Regions from separate parts of the Homo sapiens genome. Here all the other regions are linked to region 5. The links are contacts of gene promoters, found by promoter capture Hi-C in blood cells and fetal thymus (Javierre and others, 2016). All regions are on one chromosome and are shown on one strand. Each heading gives the region's core, a stretch centred on a gene start or on the middle of the fragment in contact. The rest is flanking DNA. Distances are from core to core; before and after follow the strand shown. Region 1 overlaps CUX1 (cut like homeobox 1). Region 2 overlaps CUX1 (cut like homeobox 1). Region 3 overlaps CUX1 (cut like homeobox 1). Region 4 overlaps CUX1 (cut like homeobox 1). Region 5 holds the start of MYL10 (myosin light chain 10).

Region 1 (2,700 bases), core at 126-2,625, 580 kb before region 5:
TTACTTCTTGGAAAAAATCCTGCAAATCATAATAAAAACAAAAAAGTCAAATAAATCGGTGACTCTGGGCTATGACTTCCCTCTCTTTGGGTGAGGCACAGGGACAAATTCTGCTCTAGGAACAGAGACTTTGGGGGGCCGAGTTCTGGCAAAGCAGCCTTCCCCAAGGGTGTGTGACGAGTGGTGCTGGAAGGTGGGACTGCAGGGTGCTGGGGCGGTGCTGGCAGCCTGCGTAGGCTGCCTTGCTCACTTGATGACAGCGACGTTTGTTGCTTTGAAACAAAACCTAAAGTGGGCTGTGGTACTCAGCACTGGCTGCCCCTGACATCTGTGCAGGATCTGTGTGTGCAGGGTCCCCCAGGCAGGGCTGTCCTAGGAACAAAAGACCCTTCAAATACCCATGTTCTCCTGCATAAATGTCACAGGGTGCTGGTTCCAGCAACATGTGGCCAGCCCCCATCTTGAATCCCACAAGCATCTGGAGGCGCTTGGGGAACTGAACAAGCAGGTCACGCACAGTGACAAAGGGGCTTTCCGGCAAGGTCCCTGAGTGATCCCTATACATCACACATCAAGGAACTTTTGAGAAGCGCATGTGCCCTTCCTCCTGTGGCTCTTGGGGCGGCCCCCCAGCCTCATCTCATCAGCCGGGACTTCCCGTGCTGCTCCCGCGCGGCCTGCCTCACCTGCCTCTGGAAGGGTTCACAGTGGCACAGCCAGTCCCTTTGCATCTTAGCTCAGCCGAGATCAGGTTGAGTTTTTTTTTTTTTTTTTTTTTTTTTAGATGGAGTTTCACTCTTGTCACCCTGCTGGAGTGCAATAGTGCAATCTCGGCCCACTGCAACCTGGGTCTCTCGGGTTCAAGCAATTCTCCTGCCTCAGCCTCCCAAGGAGCTGGATTACAGGTGTGCACCACCACGCCTGGCTAATTTTTGTATTTTTACTAGAGACGGGGTTTCCCCATGTTGGCCAGGCTGGTCTCGAACTCCTGACGTCAGGTGATGCACCTGCCTCGGCCTCTCAAAGTGCTGGGATTACAGGTGTGAGCCACTGCGCCCAGCCGAAAAGCTGATTCTTTAATGTCTCCAATTGAAGAGGTATTCTTTTTTTGCGGGCGGAGAGGGTCTCGCTTTGTCACCCAGGCTGCAGTGCAGTGATGCTATCATTGCTCACTGCAGCCTCCACCTCCTGGGTTCAAGTGATACTCTTGCCTCAGCCTCCTGAGTAGCAGGGATCACAGGTGCAAGCCACCATGCCTGACTTATTTTTATATTTTTAGTAGAGACCGAGTTTCACCATGTTGGCCAGGCTGGTCTCAAACTTCTGACCTCAAGTGATCCACCCACCTCGGCCTCCCAAAGGGCTGGGATTACAGGTGTGAGCCACCGCGCCTGGCCCCTGCCTGCTTTAGACAGTGCTGTGGAATGCCCAGGGGTGCAATCAGCCTCTCCTGTCCCTATGAACATGCTATCCACATGCCCCCGACACTGACTGTTAGCCATGAATGTGGGAGAGCCGACTGACTGCTTATCAAGGACACTGCTTTAGAATCTTACTGCAGAGTTCAAAGCTCACGAGCCCTGGACACGTGTTCCTGGCTGTCTGGTGGGAACCAGCTAAGAGCCATGACCATGATACGCATGCACATTCAAAAGGAACGTGGACCTGTCCGCGATAGGGGCTGCAGCCAAGGGGAATCTCCTGGTTGTACAAGGTCATGGACAGCCCACGGCCCCGTGGGCTTCACGTCAAAGAGGGGCACACATTGGACCACCCACATTAGAGACAGACCATAGCAGCTGTCTTCTCAAAGAGGCAACTGATACTCTGTTGGCTGACTGGGAACAGCAACAGGCAGCAGAGAAGGCTTGGAACCCATCATTCCTAACACGCCAGGAAAGAGCTGGGTATTTCACGATTCAGCCAAGGGCAGGGGACCATCCTTCCACCTGGATAGCCATAATACACCTGAAGCCAGTGTGAATGCAGACGTAACAGCTTGTTAGCCACAGCAATGAAACGCTCCCACATTAAAAAGTTACAAAGTGGCCGGGTATGGTGGCTCACATCGGTAATCCCAGCACTTTGGGAGGCCAGGAGTTTGAGACCAGCCCTGGCAACAGAGACCAGGTTACTTGGGTATTTGGAAATAAAGAATAAAAAAGGCCGGGTGTGGTGACTTACACCTGTAATCCTAGCACTTTGGGAGGCCAAGGTGGGAGGATCACCCGAGGTCAGGAGTTGGAGACTAGCCTGGCCAACATGGTGAAACCCCATCTCTATTAAAAATACAAAAATTACCTGGGTGTGGTGGCAGGCACCTGTAATCCCAGCTACTTGGGAGGCTGAGGAAGGAGAATTACTTGAACCCCGGAGGTGTAGGTTGCAGTGAGTCGAGATCGCGCCACTGCACTCCAGCCCAGGTGACAGAACGAGACTCCATCTCAAAAAACAAAAACAAAAACGAATAAAAAAGAGAGACCCACTTCTACAAAAAATAAAAAAATTAGCTGAGTGTGGTGGAAAGTGTCTATAAGTCCCAGCTACTCAGGAGGCTGAGGAGAGAGGATTGTTTGAGCCTGAGAGATTGAGGCTGTATTGAGCTGTGATTGTGTCACTGCACTCCAGCCTGGGCAACAGAGTGAGTCCCCGTCTGTCTATAAAAAATAAATAAAATAAATAGAATAAGATACAATAAAT
Region 2 (2,700 bases), core at 75-2,574, 530 kb before region 5:
GAACTCCAGCCTGGGTCACAGGGTGAGACTCCATCTCAAAAAAAAAAAAAAAAAAAAGCTTTCCCCTAACCGCAGTGCCCGATTGGGATGTGAATACAGGATGTAGACAGCTACTTCCAGGCCTCTAAAGTCTGAACAATTTGACTCATAAAACGTGGTAAGGCATCATGGGAAGGACACAGAGAGGGGTGGGCTTGCAGAGGATAAAGACAGGGCCTTGGGCCAGCTGCAGCCTGGTGGGGCGAAGGTGTGGGGAGAGGGCTGGGGGGTCTCATGTGCGACATGGCCCCAGACCTGTGGAGAGGTGGCTGTGGTTAGGAATTCTCTTGGGAGGCTCATTTTCTTCTCCCTCTGGAACCAACAAGAGAGAACCCTCACCGTCTCCCCTTTAAGGGCAGACTCCTTCCCCCACCCTGCCAGTTTACACTTTCAGAGTGTGGCCTTTGAAGTCCCTGGTTTTATATGGCGGGGGAGGGGGGTTTTCTCTGATCCAATCTTCCACCCCCTTCTTGGCCCCAGGTTTTGTCTCTTGTTCTCTGCTTGCATGGCCATTAAAACTCAGGCTTGAGGACACCAGAGATGAGCAAGTCCCCCGAGGAACAAAGTAGACCCAGGAGCTGATGATGGGCTAAGGCCCTGCTGCCCTACCCGCAGCATGCAATTACAGTGAACATCTCGACTCCCAGAGGTAACTCCATGTCACTGACTCTGCAGGAAGGAGGTCGGGAACAGCTACCACAGCTGGAGACCAAATGCTGACCACCACGTGTCCCACGCTGATGCTGCACCAGTGGCCAAGGCCTCCATGGAGACCCACTCTCCGTGGTGAGGGTCAGCTGTGGTTTCCAACCCCTAACCTCAACCTGGAGAGTCCTCCACTAGGGCAGTCTTGTGACATAAACACCAGGCAGGTGAACAGGAAGAGGGCAGCTCACTTCAATGACTCCCTCCCAGCCCCACTGTGGGCTAGGAGAACATGCCACTGCGCTCCAGCCTGTGCGTCAAAGCCCATATTCATTCAATACATCTTTTTGAGCACGGACTCTGAGCAGGCCTCGTAGGTAGTAAAGAAATGCTGGCTTCAAAGCCGGGCGCAGTAGCTCATGCCTGTAGTCCCAGTACTTTGGTAGGCCAAGGCGAGAGGATAGCTTGAGCCCAGGAGTTTGAGACCCACCAGCAACTCGGATCACCACTGCTCAGAAAGGAGGCCCCGGAGGGGTGGTGGGCGGGCCACTTTTTTTCACCACAAAAAGGCTGTGAATTGCTGAAAGCCCCCGGACGGGACGGGGTTTCACATGCAGTTCAAAGTGTAAAGCTGTGGCTTCTTATTGACCATGAAGTCTCAAGAGATCTGATCCTTTACTGTCACCAATTGGGACAGTGAGTATTTATGCCAGTGCCCTGATGTTCAACAAACAGGTGTGAATGAGGCTCGGACATAACTGACAGGTGCCGACCCCTCTGCTACTTCTCCATAACAGGAGCACAGTGGTTGAGCAATAAACGAGCACTTCAGGTCTCCGTAGAACATTCTAACTACACACCCAGGGAAAACGAATGTTGTATGCCAGTGAGCTAGTAAATTGCTCCTCCTGGGGGGTTTCCTGATGGGAAAGGTGTTGGTCCAGATGCCTGCCACCTGCACCAGTGTTGGACTGTGTCTGCGCCCTCCTCTTCCTGCCCAGCCCGCCTCCAGCTCACCTCCGCAGGGATGGCCTCAGCTCAGGCCCATGCCATCTCTCCCCATACTTACACAATAGCCTCCCACAGCTCTCCTGGCTTCTGGTCTTTCCACTCCCATCTGTTCTCCAATGTATAGCCAGAGAGATCCTTCTAGAACTCAAACCTGATGTCTCAATCCCGCCTACGATTCTTCACTGCTCCCAGGATGAATCCTTCATACTCAGACCCTCCCACAGGCCTGGCCAGGTCCCGTCCTACCAGCCCACTCTCTGACCCGCATCTCTGGTGTTGGTTTTGAACTCTCGGGCCCAAGAGATCCTCCCATCTCAGCCTCCTGGGTTAGCTGGGACCACAGGTGCACACCACCACACCTGGCTATTTTTTTTTTTTTAAACTTTTTTGTAGAGAAAAAAGTCTCACTATGTTGCCCAGGCTGGTCTCAAACTCATGGGCTCAAGTGATGCTCCTGCCTCGGCCTCTCCAACTGCCGGTACTATAGGCACCGCCGCCACCATGCCTGGCTCTGGGCAGCTTTTCTCTTAGTTGATGGCCCAGGGCAACGTCCCCTTCTCTGGCTTTCCTTTAACCTTCCACTTCTTTTCCTGCTGGAAATATTCTCTCGATATTCCAAGGGCTTGCATCTTTCCTCCCTGGATGCTTCTCATGCCAATGGGTTCACCTGTAGCTTCACGAAATCCTAGACTTCAGGGTCAAAAGGGACCCTTTGAGCCTTCTTGTTCAATCCCTCCTTCGGTCCACTCTGTGCGTGATTCCCCATCTCATGCTCTCTGGGAGGGCTGGCCTGAATCTGCTTGCATAGCTCTGGTGACAGGGAGCTCACTCTCTCCAGAGCAAGCATCTTTCAGCGTGGCAACTCTGGAGAGCCAGACCACTGGGAATAAGCTTCCTGGCTGGGCATGGTGGCTGATGCCTGTAACCCCAGAACTTTGGGAGGCAGAGGTGGGTGGATCGTTTGAGCCCAGGAGTTCAAGAGCAGCCTGGGCAAACATGGCAAAA
Region 3 (2,700 bases), core at 3-2,502, 630 kb before region 5:
GGGCCACAGCAAGCAATCTCCACACCCAACCTTCCTCCACGTTGAACCACCTATAGGGGAAAGGGGCCCTCTGCCTATGATCTCCTAGGTGAGCCCTCAAGCCACAGCCTGGTACTACAAAACACTGTTGCTTTGAAAGATGGTTTTGACCAACTTTGTACGCAAGAAAAACAACAACAAAAAACCAACCAAAACGTATCAACCCATGCGGGCCTTGCAAGAAATCACTCTCTCGCTTGGAGGTAAAGTCTTGGCCAGGCCACCGCGCCCTCTCTGACCACGGCTCGCCGAAACTTCATGAACCCAGAAGTCTTACCAGAGGCTCTAGGAGGCTTTGGGGAACTGAACTTGGCTTTGCTAAGATTCCTCTGAAGCTCCTCAAGCGAGCATTCTTCAACTCAGCAACTCCCTCACACGTTGGTAAATTTTTTTGTTCATAAACACTCTCATTTAAAAAGTTAGACACATAGAGACCACCAGTTTTTGAGTGGCTACTCTGGAGACAGGTGTTTGATTTTGCTGGGGAAACCCCCTCTGCCCCCCAGTCAATCCCCCAGACGCCTTGGTTCTCTGGGGGAGTAGGGGAGGAGAGGAAGGCAGAGGATAGTAACCACTAGAGTGACAGCAAAAAGCATTTATGACAACAAAACACAAAATAACAATACACTCCTGATAAGTACTTAAATGATTAACCTAATAATAAATAGAAGAGGATAGAAATAATTTTTTTTTTCTCAAGGAAACATCCTTTTATAATCACCCTCACGCACGCCGGCAGGTCAGTAGCAGTCAGTCCATTTCAACAAGACAAGATTAAGTGCTGGAAGGGATGGCTGTGGCCTCAGACACTGGGGAAGGGTCTCAGCTTCTGAATCACGGATACTCCCTATCCTGCCTCGTCAGGCCAGCGGCTCCGGCCAGAGCCCGCGGGCCCTGCACGCCCAGCACAGTGGTCACCAAGAGGCAGGCTGGGAGACTGGAGGGAGTCGGGGAGGCCTGTTTTCCCTTCGGTTCATGAACAAACGGAACTACAGTGAACAAACTCATTCATAACCTGAATCGTCCTGGTCTAAAGCTTACTTTGAGTTCATTTGGTGTGCAATACGTTATTTTTTTAAAATGAAGAAAAATGATTTCAATTGCACAGAGCTTTTACACATAGTCATCTATTTAAGTGCTTTCCGTTTAAAGCAAAGTACAAAAAAAATAATAAAATAATAAAAAAGAAGAAGGAAAAGGGGGGAAAAAAGAATTATAAAACAAAAGCAGCTCCGTGCCACTTCAATGTGTCTTGCTGAATGGTCTCTTGTTTCACCAGCAGAAGTCCCAATGCTTCCGTACACACTGTGCTTCTGATTAATTTCCATAGGGATGTAGCCGTGACATTGGGATATAAGGCACCTTTTCTTTCTGATTACAGAAAGCTTGATACATAGCATATAGCATATTTTGTGGTAGAAATTAAAGCGTAAACACTACAGAAATTACAGTAACGTAGACTAATGCTTTCTTAACATTATCGGGTAAACTAAAAGGATTCATGAAAAGCAACTCAAAGGCATCTTAAGAGTTTAAGAACGGGGGCATGGGGGAAGTGCACATTTATGCATAGCCAAATGTCTTTCTCTCGCCAGCCTTTTTTTTTTGTCTTTTTTTTTTTTTGGGATTTTTCGCCTACAATGCCCAACTTTTAAAGTTAGCATTTTGGAGGAGACTAGGCGCTTTGGAAATGTCTTGTTAAAGCTAAATGTCACTTCATCCAAAAATGAAAACTCGAGATGATGCCACGGATGGCATGGACACGGTTATCTTTGGAGGGAAGGTGGTGGTGGGAGAGGCCTGGGCAGGAGGAGGCAGTTTTTGGAAGTCGGGCAGACAGGCGGAAATTGCATTTCCTTCTATTCCCCTGACCAGGGTGGTGAGGAGCACAGGCCGCCGGGGCCTCTGGGATTGGGAAGACTGGGCTGGGGGGCCGGGAGTAGGGCTGGGGCTTGTTTTACGCTCTGCCCCCCACACCCCCTCCTCTTCCGTCCTGATTAAGCCCAAGGGTTGGTGGACTTAACTTTCAGCCCATCTCTAAGGGTTTCACAGACTGGATCTTTCTAAACTTTATTGGGTACCTGCTTCCCCTTTTCCCTGGTAGTTTTCATCTACAAAAAGTCAAAACCTGATCGAAATAGAAATAAGATCATCAAATTGGACCATTCTCTTAGCGTTCGAGTGTGCCGGCCAGACTGGCATTCAGTACACGCTGAGATCCAACCACATCACACTGGCCTCAGGTCACCACCTCGCCACTCAGGGCACAAGCCCTGCCCTTGTGGTCACAAAGGCTTCCCTAATGTCGTCGATGCCCAGGTGAAACCACAGAAGCACTGAGGGCTTTCTAAATGTGAGCTTTGGCTGGTCAATGCCCAAGCACAGGATGCTGTCCCCATCCTTAGGTTCTTACTTGCAAACTGTCTCCAGCAGGGGAACACTTTGGCCCCCACAGTGGACAGACCCACCTCCAACCACCAGCCCCAGGAGCTGATTTTCTTCGGTGCTGGATGGGAACTGGCATATTCTTTTGGGATAAGAGGGTGATGCCACTGTGGACGGGGCGTGTAGGCTGGAGGAAGCCATCTATCCTTTTCCGTCTTTGAGATGTTTGATGTTTGCAAAGGAGTGTTCGCAGTGACGCTAAAACCATGCCAGAGA
Region 4 (2,715 bases), core at 167-2,666, 560 kb before region 5:
TTGTAAGGAGAAGCCAGAGAGAGGGGAACCCACCAGGGCGGCCACTGCCCACACCTCACTCCTAACTGGCACCTACCTGGGGACCAGGGGACATAGGCAAAGAGCAACCTCCTAGACTTGGATGACTCAGAAGCCAGGTGGGCAGACCTTCTCTGCAGCCCCAGGTTGGGGAAGGAGTGCAATGACAAAGATGTGGCAAGAGAAGGTGACTTCTCCCTCCCTTGTTCTCAATGGCACTGAAAAGGGCCGCACCCTGATCACTACGGTCTCTGGGCTGTCTCAGTGAGTCCAGGTCCCCAGGATTATTACTGTTTCTTGAGTTCCTTTTGCTGTGGATGTCCCTTTTTTGCTGAGTTTACCAGGGAGAAGAGGGGAAGTGAGGCTATGTGGCTTTGAAGGAGCTGCAAGTGTTTCTTTGAAATACCAAGGATGGAAGAGAGAGACCCAGAGCAGGCTGGCTGGACCGTGAGATTTACGACTCGCAGGTGCAGAGTCAACCGGACCTTCGCCATGTTCCTGCAGCCACAATTTCGGCCTCTGTCCCCCTAGTGTGAGCCACCACACCTGGATAATTTATTTTTAGTAGAGACGGTTTTGGCCAAGCTGGTTTCCTGACCTCAGGTGATCTGTCGGCCTCCCAAAGTGCTGGGATTACAGATGTGAGCCACTGCGCCCAGCTGAAAGGGGTTTCTTAAGATGGAATCCTGTCCTTCGTTTCCTATTTTCTTTAGGATTATGTAATAAAAGACCACGTGGCTCTTTATCTATTCTACAGATCTTTACCAGCAGCCTGCTATCCGCTTGTTGCCGTGGGGAATCAGAACCACTCCTGGTCCGTACTCCAGGAAATTTACAGGCCATTACAGGTAATAGGCAAGACTCCAAGTGGTCCATTAAGACAGAACTTGTGAGGACCCCAGCAGGAGGGATCTTGATGGATTGGAGACCACGTCTCAGTGTCATGATGAACAAGCATTGGAGAAGGGCCCTGAAGGGACAGGGTGTCTTGTGCTGCAGTGCATGAGGATCTGAGGTCAGCATCCCCTGTTGCGTGGGGGTGAGGAAGTGGAAATGGGACGATGCTGAGAAGGGGACGCGGGCAAGAGCTCAAGAGCACAGCTGGTTCACCAGGAAGTGGAAAACTAGGAGCGCATTTGGGCAAAGAAGCCACCTGAGTGGGGCTTCCAGATGTGCACATGGTGGTGGGGCCTGTCATGTGCGGACGCAACAGAAAGAGTTAGCAGAAATGCAGTGACAAGCGGGGCTGGTGTGGCAGCCCTTCAGTGGGGGTAGGGGCAGCCTGTGGTCCGGCAGGCTGTGGATGAGAGGGAGTAGAACGGTATGTGTTGCAGGCTGGAGCCTGGAAGCCTCAGCTCCCAGGGGATGAAGTGAACGTGGGGGTTGGGGGAGAAGAGGAGGAGGAGGAGGAGCAAGAGGAAGAAGAAGAGGAAGAGGAAGAAAGAAGAAGAGGAGGAGGAAGAAAGAAGAAGAGAGGAAGAAAGAAGAAGACAACGAAGACGACAATGAAGACGACGACTAACTCCCAGGGTGAGGCTGGGCAAAGGCCTTCGCAGCAGTTTCTCTGGCTCAAAATTAAAAGGCCCAATTTCTTTTTCTTTTTGGAAGAGGGAAGAAGAGGGAAAGGAAGGAAAGAATGGGATAGGAGAGGCAGGTAGAGAAGGTTAACCAGGTAATGTTTAATAATAAGTTACATGTAATCCCGGCACTTTGGGAGGCTGAGGTGGGTGGATCACCTGAGGTCGGGAGATTGAGACCAGCCTGACCAACATGGAGAAACCCCATCTCTACCAAAAATACAAAATTAGCCCGGGGTGGTGGCTCATGCCCGTAATCCCAGCTACTTGTGAGGCTGAGGCAGGAGAATCGCTTGAACTCGGGAGGCGGAGGTTGCGGTGAGCCGAGATAGCACCATTGCACTCCAGCCTGGGCAACAAGAGCTAAACTCTGTCAAATAAATAAATAAGTAAGCAAGCAAGTAAGTAAGTTACAGAGGCTGGAACTGTTAGAGGGATGTAGGGGTCTGTCCGAGGAGGTGCCGGCAGAGGCTTTGCAGCTGGAGAGGGGATGAGACCGCTCAGGGGGAGAGCATGGTGGGGACAGGGACTACCAGGGCCAGCAGACGCCAGGGAGGCTGGGGGTCCCAGGCGAGAGAAGGCAGCTGGTCATGGAAGTGAGATGGTTCAAGAGGATGCCCGAGGAGCTTTTCTTAGCAGAATGGAATTAACAACACAAAGAAAACGTGGTGAGTGGGTGTAGGCTCATCTTAAAAGGAGAAATGGAAAATAGCAGCAAGAGAGAAAGGGGCTGATGGGACAGCAGGAGGGGCAGGAAGGAAGGGACTCAAGGTCTAGGCAGAGGGGGCAGCCTGCAGAGATGGGAGGTGGCACCCAAGACCAGAGGCGGGAGTCTGTCCCTAGCAGAGGGCTAGGGCATCTGTGGATAGTGGTTGGGGTAACAGTGACAAGGGCAGGGAGGAACCCCTGAGGAAGCCTCGAACCAGCAGAGCTCCAGCCGCGAGAAGCACGGGGGACCTGTGGGGCTGGTCACCATGCCCTAGGCAACCTTCGTTTGCAGTGCTTAATAACCTAGGAGTGAGGCGGGCATGCCAGTGGGAAGGCTTGGAATGGCTGACGATCCAGGGGAGCTGTATGAACGTAGAGGGTCTGACCACAGGCTCCAGGCTTGCAGGGGAGG
Region 5 (2,806 bases), core at 109-2,608:
CTGTAAGCCCAGAGCCAGGAGGCCCCAGGGCCAGGCTCACAGACCGGGCATGGAAAGCCTGCACCCTAGCCACTGTCGCGGTCACACAGGCCCCCTTCTGTAGCAGGTCCAGGCGGCTGGGACTGGAATCCAGGCTCCCGTCCCCAGAGCTGGGTTCTCCTTTCCGCCTGGCTTGTTGAACACCTGTGGAACGTGTGGTTTTTCTCCCCGGAGAGGAACGCCAGGACACCAGGAGAGCAGCCCTGTCGGGGAAACTGAGGCACACGGTTTCCTGCTGCAGAAAGCGGGCTGCACAGCATCATGGCTGGACCTGGCCCCAGCTCTGGGAGGAGCACTCAGTCACAGGAGTTTAGGGACATCAGAAATAGCTGTAGTCAGGGATGACTGGGAGGGAGCAGGAGGAGGGGAGAGTTTGGATGAGCAGAACCTTTTGGAAGCTTCCTTCTGGAAACACTAGAAAGAGGGGCTCTTGTCCTGGCCCTCCCTCTCTCTCTCTCTTTTTTTTTTTTTTTTTTTTTGTTTTAGAAATGAGACCTTGATCTGTTGTCCAGGCTGGAGTGCAGTGGTGCAATCACAGCTCATTGAAGCCTCAACCTCCTGGGCTCATGTGATCCTCCCACCTCAGCCTCCTAAGTAGCTGGGCCTGCAGGCATGTGCCACTGATACAGGAGGGGGGACAGGGAAGTGCTGAGAGGAGAAAGGCAGGGTCCCTGGCAAGGGCTCCACCCTTGGGCCTGTGCCCACGGACCTAGGTGAGGACAGGCACTCCTGTTTATATGCCCAAATGTCACATTTTCCAAGACCACCCTGGCCCACCACGCCCCCCGCCCCCCCGCCCATCCTGTGCCTATGAAAACCCTGAGACCCCAGTGGGTACACACACAGGTGGCTGGACATCAAGAGGAGCAGAGGATCGGAAGAGCACACCGACAGCACTGGCAGATGCTGGCAGGCCATCGACTGGCTGAATAACACAAATGCCCAGGGGAATTTGGCTGGGGATGGTCAGAGGAGAGTCTGGCTGCTGAGCACCTTGACTTCAGGGGAAAAATCACCTTCCCACTCCATCCCCCTTCTGGCTCCCCATCATCTGCTGAGAGCTACTTCCACCACTCAATAAAACCTCGCACTCATTCTCCAAGCCCACATGTGATTCAATTTTCACAGTACACCAAGGCAAGAACCCCAGGATACAAAAAGCCCTTTGTCCTTGCAATAAGGCAGAGGGTCTAACTGAGCTGATGAACACAAGCCACCTACAGATGGCAAAAGTAAAAGAGCATCCTGTAACACACGCCCACTGGGGCTTCAGGAGCTGTAAGCATCCACCCCTAGACACTGCCGTGGGGTCGGAGCCCCATAGCCTGCCTGTCTGCATGGTCCGCCTAGAGGTTTGAGCAGCTGGGCATGGAAGAAGCGAGCCACACCCCCATCGCATGCCCTATGAACGGGATAAGGGAACTTTTTCACTTCACCACTATGCCTGACTAATTTTTTAATTAAAAAAAATTTTTTTGTAGAAACAGAGTTTCACCATGTTGCTTAGGCTGGTCTCAAACTCCTGGCCTCAAGTGATCCTCCCTCCTCGGCCTCCCAAAGTGCTGGGATTACAGGTATGAGCCACTGTGCCTGGCCTCTGGCCCCACTTCTTATCTGCCTTGGGTGAGTGACTTAACCCATGCGTGCCTCAGTTTCCTCATCTGGAAAATGGGATATGGATTGAATGTGAGGACACGTGTTTTAAGACATGGCCTGACCTTCTGTGTTGTATATTAGCTGCTCTTCTTATTATTATTATGATATTCCCTTCCCCAAAGGCAGGGGATCAGCTGTACCCGGGGCTGAAGGCCTGAGGCCAGCTCCAGGGACAGTTAAGCTCTCCAGCCCCTGGGGACCCGTGGGCTCACTGCCTGAACCCAGCACTGCCGGCCCTGGCAGCTGTTCAGATATGGCGGGCCCCAGATGGACAGTGGCAGCCTCTGAGGCCGAGCTGGGGCTGCTGGGGCTGCACTAGACACAGGAGGGGCTTTCCAGGGCAGGTGTGGGCTCTGTTTGGCAGATCTACTAGAGAATTCTTGGGCTGGGCCAGGCCTGGTGGGGATGGATGTGTGTGTGTGAGGCCAGGGTGGAATGGAGGTCTCATTTTTCAGTTCTTCCTCATCAGAGTCACCTCCAGTTTTCTGTTTTCTTTTTTTTAAGAGACAATATCTCACTCTGTCGCCCAGGCTGGAGTGCAGTGGCACAATCATAGATCACTGCAGCCTCAAACTCCTGGACTCAAGCAATCCTCCTGCCTCAGCCTCCTGAGTAGGTGGGACTACAAGAGCACACCACCATGCTCGGCTAATTTTTTTGATATTTTGTAGAGATAGGGGTCTCACTATGTTGCCCAGGCTGGTCTTGAACTCCTGGCCTGAAGCGATCCTTCCCTCTTGGCCTCCGAAAGCTCTGGGATTACAGGCGTGAGCCACTGCGCCCACCCCATTTTTCTTTTATTTGTCCTGTTGCTTTCTCTGTTCATTGAGCATTTCAGTGCCCTGAGGGGGTCCCCTGGCCTGGGGGTGCTTAATGGACACCCTGATAATAGGCATATTGGTAGAAGGGGCCCCCGAGGGCCAGGTTGGTGCAGAAACTCTCTCCATAAGCAGACCGGGGGTTTCATACACTCCCCCCTATTCCTATGAGATGGCTGAGCCTCCTAGAGGGTGATGTCCCACCCAGAGTCCCACAGCTCCAGAGGTCCGGCCACACTGCAGTCTGAGTGGGTCCCAGCCAGCATGGGTGGCCCCACCCTGGGCAACACTCC

What was found. Contacts are between HindIII fragments. The CHiCAGO score rates a contact against its expected background, and 5 or more counts as called.
Region 1: a contact is called between a fragment that was not itself captured here and the fragment with the promoter of MYL10 in region 5, in 4 of 17 cell types (fetal thymus, activated CD4 T cells, monocytes and 1 more). The highest score is 8.5, in fetal thymus.
Region 2: a fragment that was not itself captured here is called in contact with the fragment with the promoter of MYL10 in region 5 in 1 of 17 cell types (M0 macrophages); the score reaches 6.1 in M0 macrophages.
Region 3: a fragment that was not itself captured here is called in contact with the fragment with the promoter of MYL10 in region 5 in 15 of 17 cell types (total CD4 T cells, fetal thymus, M1 macrophages and 12 more); the score reaches 15.0 in total CD4 T cells.
Region 4: a contact is called between a fragment that was not itself captured here and the fragment with the promoter of MYL10 in region 5, in 3 of 17 cell types (naive B cells, endothelial precursors and non-activated CD4 T cells). The highest score is 5.9, in naive B cells.

What each region holds. Positions count from the first base shown.
Region 1 is chr7:102,209,861-102,212,560 of GRCh38, reverse strand. The region is part of intron 20 of CUX1 (cut like homeobox 1); the gene reads right to left. Among named protein-coding and RNA genes, the nearest start is that of SH2B2, 76 kb to the left of the region's middle. RefSeq lists an enhancer at 467-776. The HindIII fragment of the contact is 5,067 bases long and covers 1-2,700 here.
Region 2 is chr7:102,162,708-102,165,407 of GRCh38, reverse strand. All of the region lies in intron 9 of CUX1 (cut like homeobox 1), which reads right to left. Among named protein-coding and RNA genes, the nearest start is that of SH2B2, 120 kb to the left of the region's middle. RefSeq lists enhancers at 534-1,427, 1,428-2,323. The HindIII fragment of the contact is 2,528 bases long and covers 61-2,588 here.
Region 3 is chr7:102,254,348-102,257,047 of GRCh38, reverse strand. It overlaps CUX1 (cut like homeobox 1), which reads right to left. Exons shown (of 24, transcript NM_181552.4): 24 at 1-2,700. Among named protein-coding and RNA genes, the nearest start is that of SH2B2, 31 kb to the left of the region's middle. The HindIII fragment of the contact is 349 bases long and covers 1,078-1,426 here.
Region 4 is chr7:102,190,508-102,193,222 of GRCh38, reverse strand. All of the region lies in intron 12 of CUX1 (cut like homeobox 1), which reads right to left. Among named protein-coding and RNA genes, the nearest start is that of SH2B2, 95 kb to the left of the region's middle. The HindIII fragment of the contact is 2,866 bases long and covers 1-2,715 here.
Region 5 is chr7:101,627,848-101,630,653 of GRCh38, reverse strand. It overlaps MYL10 (myosin light chain 10), which reads left to right and starts at 1,358. Exons shown (of 8, transcript NM_138403.5): 1 at 1,358-1,613. The coding sequence starts at 1,536. The HindIII fragment of the contact is 16,008 bases long and covers 440-2,806 here.